Regions from separate parts of the Homo sapiens genome. Here region 2 is linked to region 1. Evidence: promoter capture Hi-C in human tissues and cell types (Jung and others, 2019). All regions are on one chromosome and are shown on one strand. Each heading gives the region's core, a stretch centred on a gene start or on the middle of the fragment in contact. The rest is flanking DNA. Distances are from core to core; before and after follow the strand shown.

The links. The method cuts DNA at HindIII sites, captures the fragments that hold promoters and counts their contacts. A contact is called where the count stands out against the background at its distance.
Region 2: a fragment that was not itself captured here is called in contact with the fragment with the promoter of LURAP1L in region 1 in 2 of the 25 tissues and cell types used here (dorsolateral prefrontal cortex and mesenchymal stem cells).

What each region holds. Positions count from the first base shown.
Region 1 is chr9:12,773,485-12,776,282 of GRCh38, forward strand. It overlaps LURAP1L (leucine rich adaptor protein 1 like), which reads left to right and starts at 1,536. Exons shown (of 2, transcript NM_203403.2): 1 at 1,536-2,543. The coding sequence starts at 2,232. All of the region lies in intron 2 of LURAP1L-AS1 (LURAP1L antisense RNA 1), which reads right to left. The HindIII fragment of the contact is 5,707 bases long and covers 1-2,112 here.
Region 2 is chr9:12,955,277-12,958,404 of GRCh38, forward strand. No RefSeq gene overlaps it. Among named protein-coding and RNA genes, the nearest start is that of SNORD137, 16 kb to the right of the region's middle. The HindIII fragment of the contact is 8,924 bases long and covers 1-3,128 here.

The DNA.
Region 1 (2,798 bases), core at 286-2,785:
ATACATATATACATACATATACGTATATATTAAATTATCCTCAGCCTCAAATACTGATTTTGCAGTCTGTGATTCATAGCAGAAGAGGTGTCCCATTTTTCTATATTGACACACGATAATTTGACATTTGTTTTTTACTGACCAATTTCTAGCTAGATATTTCATCTATAAACTGCACTTAGCCAGCCTTATGCTGAACTTTGTAAGGGTTTTGTAATAATAAACTGTTCTTGACTGAAACACAAGCCTTTCATAATTACATGCCACAGTGCAATTCTTATGCAACGAGCTTGTGTTTTTCCAAATTTAGGACCAAGCATGTAGTTTTATCAGTTAGCTGGGATTTGGTCTTGTTTTCCCTTGATTCTGTAAGTGGTAGTTCTAACTTTGAAATGGGTCATCTAACTTATAACTATTTTCTTCATTTCTTTTTAAAAGGGAGAAATAGCATGCAAATTTCTGGCATGTTGATAGAAAGTTCAGCATTTTTTCCCTGACATGAAATATTTCATTTAGAATGCGTATGTTTCCTCTACGTATAAGGTTTCCTAGAGTCAGATATGATAAAAACAAACTCTGAGATGTATATACCTATGTTCCTACAAGTGTAAAACCTGAATGATGTCTCTGGAAATGGAGCCTCGGAGTGACCAGGAACACAAATACTTATATGTCACAGAAATAGAGGGGCACATACTTTGAAATATTTCAATGGAAATCAAAAATTGTAGTTTACTGGATTGAAATTAGTATCCTCTACTTAAACATTTTTGACACAAACTCAATGCTGATTCAGATCTGTAATCCATGTAGCTCATAATAACTTACTTGGTAGAAGTATTTCAGATTAATGAATTGTACAATTGTACAAATTAATAAATTGTACAATTGTTCAACTATACAATTAATTGTACAATTTGTATAGTTGAAAAAATCTATAAATTAATTTATAGATAAATTATCAAAGAAGACAACATTTTAAATAGTTATTCCCAATATTTTTTCTTCCATAATTAAAATAAAAGTAAGTATCTCAGCAATTGCTTGTTCTTAAAATTTCACTGCTATCTCAGCAGTCATGTAAGTTATTCTGGCTATTTAATTTTTCACTTTTGTTTGCATACTGTAACAGTTGGTAGGATAATTAATTTTGATTGTACATTTCCATTGAACTTTTGATGAAATTGTTTCACTCTTTTTATTAGAATAAAATTATTAGGAAAGTCTTCTAAAGAGAGGTTTTCTGTTTGTTTTTCCTTTGAGGAAGGTAGAGAGATGGGAAACGAAGACACCAAATATAAAGTCATTCCTCTATCTCTCATTTTAAAACCTGTTTTAAAGGTTGTAGCTAGTCAGGAAAACTGAAAAATCAACTGGTATTCCTAACTAAAGCAGGGCTTTGAAACTCTGCTACTAGCGACAGGGTTGGGAAAATTCCGGTTGCTCTTCTTGTCTGTGATATACGGTAGAAGGGTTGGTCCTGGTTTGGTCCACCTGCCAGCGGAGTTTAAAGTTTCCGAGGCTCAGAGGAACACAATGACTTGGATCAAACAGCCTAAATGGGAAGAAGGACATTTTTGCTGCATCAAGGAAGCCGTTAAACTCCTGCTAAGCTAACTAGCTCTTTTTTATGGGTCCATGCACACGACCGAACTCCTCTTTCACTGACCAGAGATTATTTCTGACAACCCAGGATATCCCGAAAGCTTGGAGGCATATGGCTGGAAAATGAAACGACCCAGGACATCGTTTCTGGCTGCATCATTATTTTGTGTCGCGTAGTACCAGATGGGCAGTCAGTGAGCGGCGCAGGGATGTGAACGGACGGTTTTATAATGTGAAAATTTTCCCTTGGTAAAGCTAAAACAGATTTAATTTCCCTCTCTTTTCTTTCACTACTTCCCCCTCTTTATTCCCCCTCTGTCTGCAATATCAGTGAACTCAACTTTGCAGTGAGGTGGCCAAAAAGAGAGAGAATGAGGAGATCTTGATCATCTTAGTGTCGGAGGAGTCGCAGCGGACTGGGAACTGCAGCTGCGACCCCCCGCGTCCTGTGCGGATTTCAGGGCTGATACCGCATAGGCGGTTATGGAAAGGACGGTACACCGGAGCGGCGGAGGATAGAGACCCTGGCCCCCGGAGAGGTCTGCTGATTTCGCAGCAGCCTTCGAAGCCGTGGCTGCCTTTCATCTGCTGCGTTTTATTACTATTATCGCCGTTCCGGAAAAGTCATGGAAGACAGCCCGCTGCCAGACCTCAGAGACATCGAGCTGAAGCTGGGGCGCAAAGTACCCGAGAGTCTAGTGCGCTCTCTCCGTGGGGAGGAGCCGGTTCCCAGGGAAAGGGACAGGGACCCCTGCGGGGGGAGCGGTGGTGGTGGCGGCGGCGGCGGCGGCTGCAGTAGCAGCAGCAGCTACTGCAGCTTCCCTCCCTCCTTGTCGTCCTCCTCTTCGTCCTCCCCAACCTCTGGCTCCCCACGAGGTAGCCACTCTAGCGCCCTGGAGAGGCTAGAAACCAAGCTTCACCTCCTCAGGCAAGAGATGGTGAGTGTGGTGCGCCAGCCGCGGGGGCTGGGACCTGGGCTGGGCCAAAAGATGGGGCGATCTGAGAATGGGGCTGGGAGAGAGGACGGCAGGGGCTGCAGAGCGGAGCGCTGGGCGCGTGGGAAATGCTGGGTGGAGGAATGAGCAGGGGGCGCTCATCCGGAGGCAGCTGCTGCGAGGCTTGTTTACCGCGGACTTTGCTCGGTCACGGTTTGCAAAGACAGCACAGTCGGCTGGCTCCACTCTGTGTACTTT
Region 2 (3,128 bases), core at 598-3,097, 180 kb after region 1:
AGGCCGAGGTGGGTGGATCTCAAGGTCAGGAGATGGAGACAATCCTGGCTAACATGGTGAAACCCCGTCTCTACTAAAAATACAAAAAATTAGCCAGGCATGGTGGCAGGCACCTGTAGTCTCAGCTACTCAGGAGGCTGAGGCAGGAGAATGGCGTGAACCCTGGAGGCGGAGCTTGCAGTGAGCCAAGATTGTGCCACTGCACTGCAGCCTGGGCGACAGAGCTAGACTCCATCTCAAAAATAAATAAATGAATAAATAAATAAATAAATAAATAAATAAATAAATAAATAAAAGAGTGCATCAGCTGCAGTAGAATAGGGAGGATGCAAGCATGCTCTAGGGTCAGGTGGTGGGTGGGGTCCCAAGAGATTATATTCTTTGTCTTCGGCTACCAGAGCGGGTAGAGAAAGACCATCAGGTGAGGGATGGTTAGGCGTGTCTGAACTCACTCTTCTGGGGCAAAGCTTGCTGGGGCCTCTGTAGGGATGGGGGTGTAGGTATCAGGTCAATGGAGTTATGTTCCCAGAGGGATTATGGCTGTCTCTGCTGTGTCCCACAGGTTTCCAGGGAAGTGCGAGAAAGCTGGCAATGACAAGCCTCACCCAGCTCCCACGCAGCCCAAAAGACCAGTCTCACTCCCACTGTGCTCCCCCAACAGCACCGAATTTATTTCCAGGCAGCTGGTGGGCAGGGCTGAGAACTTGCCCCAGGCTACAAGCCTCCCTGCTGAGAAAGCAAGCTGGGCTTTCCGGTTTCACCCCTCCCCACCTGCCATGGCTTCTGTGCTGGTATCTGCACTCCTCATTTGCCCCCTCCGCGGATTCTGTCCAGGAAACGTCATGCTGGGTCAAAATTGTTACAAACGTCAGCTGGAAATTTCCTTCTCCCTGTGGTCTTTCCCCAGTTCCACTGGCAGCCCGCCCCCATCCCCACTCAAGGACCCCTATGAGACAAAGTCAGGAATGGCTTCCATGGGGACTGAAAGTGCCCACAGGACTCTTCCTGATGCTTCTTCTACCACTATATTTTGCTCGCCTCTCTAAATTTATCTTAGCTCCAGCTAAGGTCAAATCCTTTTCCAGAGATCTGGACCTTCAGGTTCCCCAGTGAGGATGTGTGTTCAAAGGTGAAATTTCCCCCCTCACACTTTTAGCACTCAGTTTTTTTGCTGTCTCATGGAGCCTGCAGTGGCAAGCCACTTCCTTTAAAGGTCTGTGGATTCTCTCGGCTTTCCTGGTATGTTCCTGCAGTAGTTCTTGGAGCAAAAGTTCACAATGTGAGTCTCTATACACTGCTCATCTGTGCTCACTCAGTTCCTCCTCTAAGCTCCGTCTTTTGAAAGGAGAAATATCAAAGAATTTTTAGGCATATTTTAACACTACTACATATGGGTATTATAAAAACAATTTTTTTTTTACTTAACACAAATGCACAGTATTTCAGCTTTATTAAGTCTGTTTTCAGAATGAAATTCTCAGATGAGAACATGCATTTTGAGGAACACTTAAACTCCAAAATTACTTTTTGGAATAAATTTATTTTTATATCTATATCTGTCTCTGTTTGCATTGAATGATAGGGGAAGAAAATACACAACTATTTCCTCTCTATCCTCAGACTAAAAGAAAAGAATACCAGATCTATTCAATTCTTTATGTCCCTCTTTTACTTCCTGCATTTTAACATATCTGGATTAGCCAGCCTGGCCAGTATGATGAAACCCCATCTCTACTAAAAATACAAATAAATTAGCTGGGCCTGGTGTTGCAAAAGAATTAGCTGGGCCTGGTGTTGCATGTCTGTAGTTCCAGCTACTTGGGAAGCTGAGGTAGGAGAATGACTTGAACCCAGGAGGCGGAGGTTGCAGTGAGCCGAGATCGCACCACTGCACACCAGCCTGGGCGACAGAGTGAGACTCCATCTAAATAAATAAATAAATACAATAAAATAAAATGTCTGGATCAGGAGACAAAGTATAGTGGACCACACAACAAATAAAAAGGAAGCTGAATGAGACTTTCCATTGCGGTGCATGTTTGGGGAGAGGGAGGAGTATGTTCATAGTGGAGAATTTTTGTGTTTTTTTTTTTTTTTTTTGAGACAGAGTCTCACTGTCACCTAGGCTGGGGTGCAGTGGTGCAATCTCGGCTCACTGCAACCTCCACTTCCTGGGTTCAAGCAGTTCTCCTGCCTCAGCCTCCCAAGTAGCTGGGACTATAGGCACGTGCCACCACGCCCAGCTAATTTTTTGTATTTTTAGTAGAGTGGGGGTTTCACCTAGTTAGCCAGGATGGTCTCCATCTCCTGACCTTGTAATCCACCCACCTCGGCCTCCCAAAGTGCTGGGATTACAGGCGTGAGCCATCGCACCTGGCCCATGGTGAAGACATTTGACTGTCATTTCCTCCTTCACCCTTCTCACTTTTCCTTATCCTCTTATCCTTCCTTTTCCCTCTCTCCTCTCTTTTGTTGGGAACTGAGATTTCAGTTGACATACCCAGCAAGGGGTATAGGCCTAGCATTTCCAAGCCTGAGACTTTAGCTGCCTTCAGTTTCCTAATTTATTTTGGTAATACAAATTAAGCAATATGCTTGTCAAAAAACTGATTTTATTGACTGCCCATTTATCTTGCCCCTGGGACATTATTCTCTCTTAAGCATTTCCAAATTCTCTGTAAGTCAGGACCCCTAGTTCAAATTCCAACCTTTGCCACTTATTACAGTCATTATACACATTTTGCTCTCCATCTGCACTCTATTGTCTCAGGTTCTCTCATCCCCAGTGGTATCATGGAGCTTAGGTCTATAATAGCATATTTTCCAGGCCCTCTACAGAACATACCTTGTTGGTGGGTTTTCCAGCTTTATGTATTCTATCTACTTCAAAATGTCCGGTCCTCTAAGCCTCTTGATTCCCTCCTCCTCAATATGGCACAGAGTTTCTTGCATTTCTACTTTATTTAGTGGAAAATTTCACTTGTTCCAAGAACTCAGAATATTCCAAGTTCACCCTAACAGCATGTTAGTTGTATCTACCAAAATTCTAATCATGGCATTAAATATCATATCGCAGAAAAGTACTCCCATATTAACAAACTCTCTCTAACATGAATTTATGTTTCCTT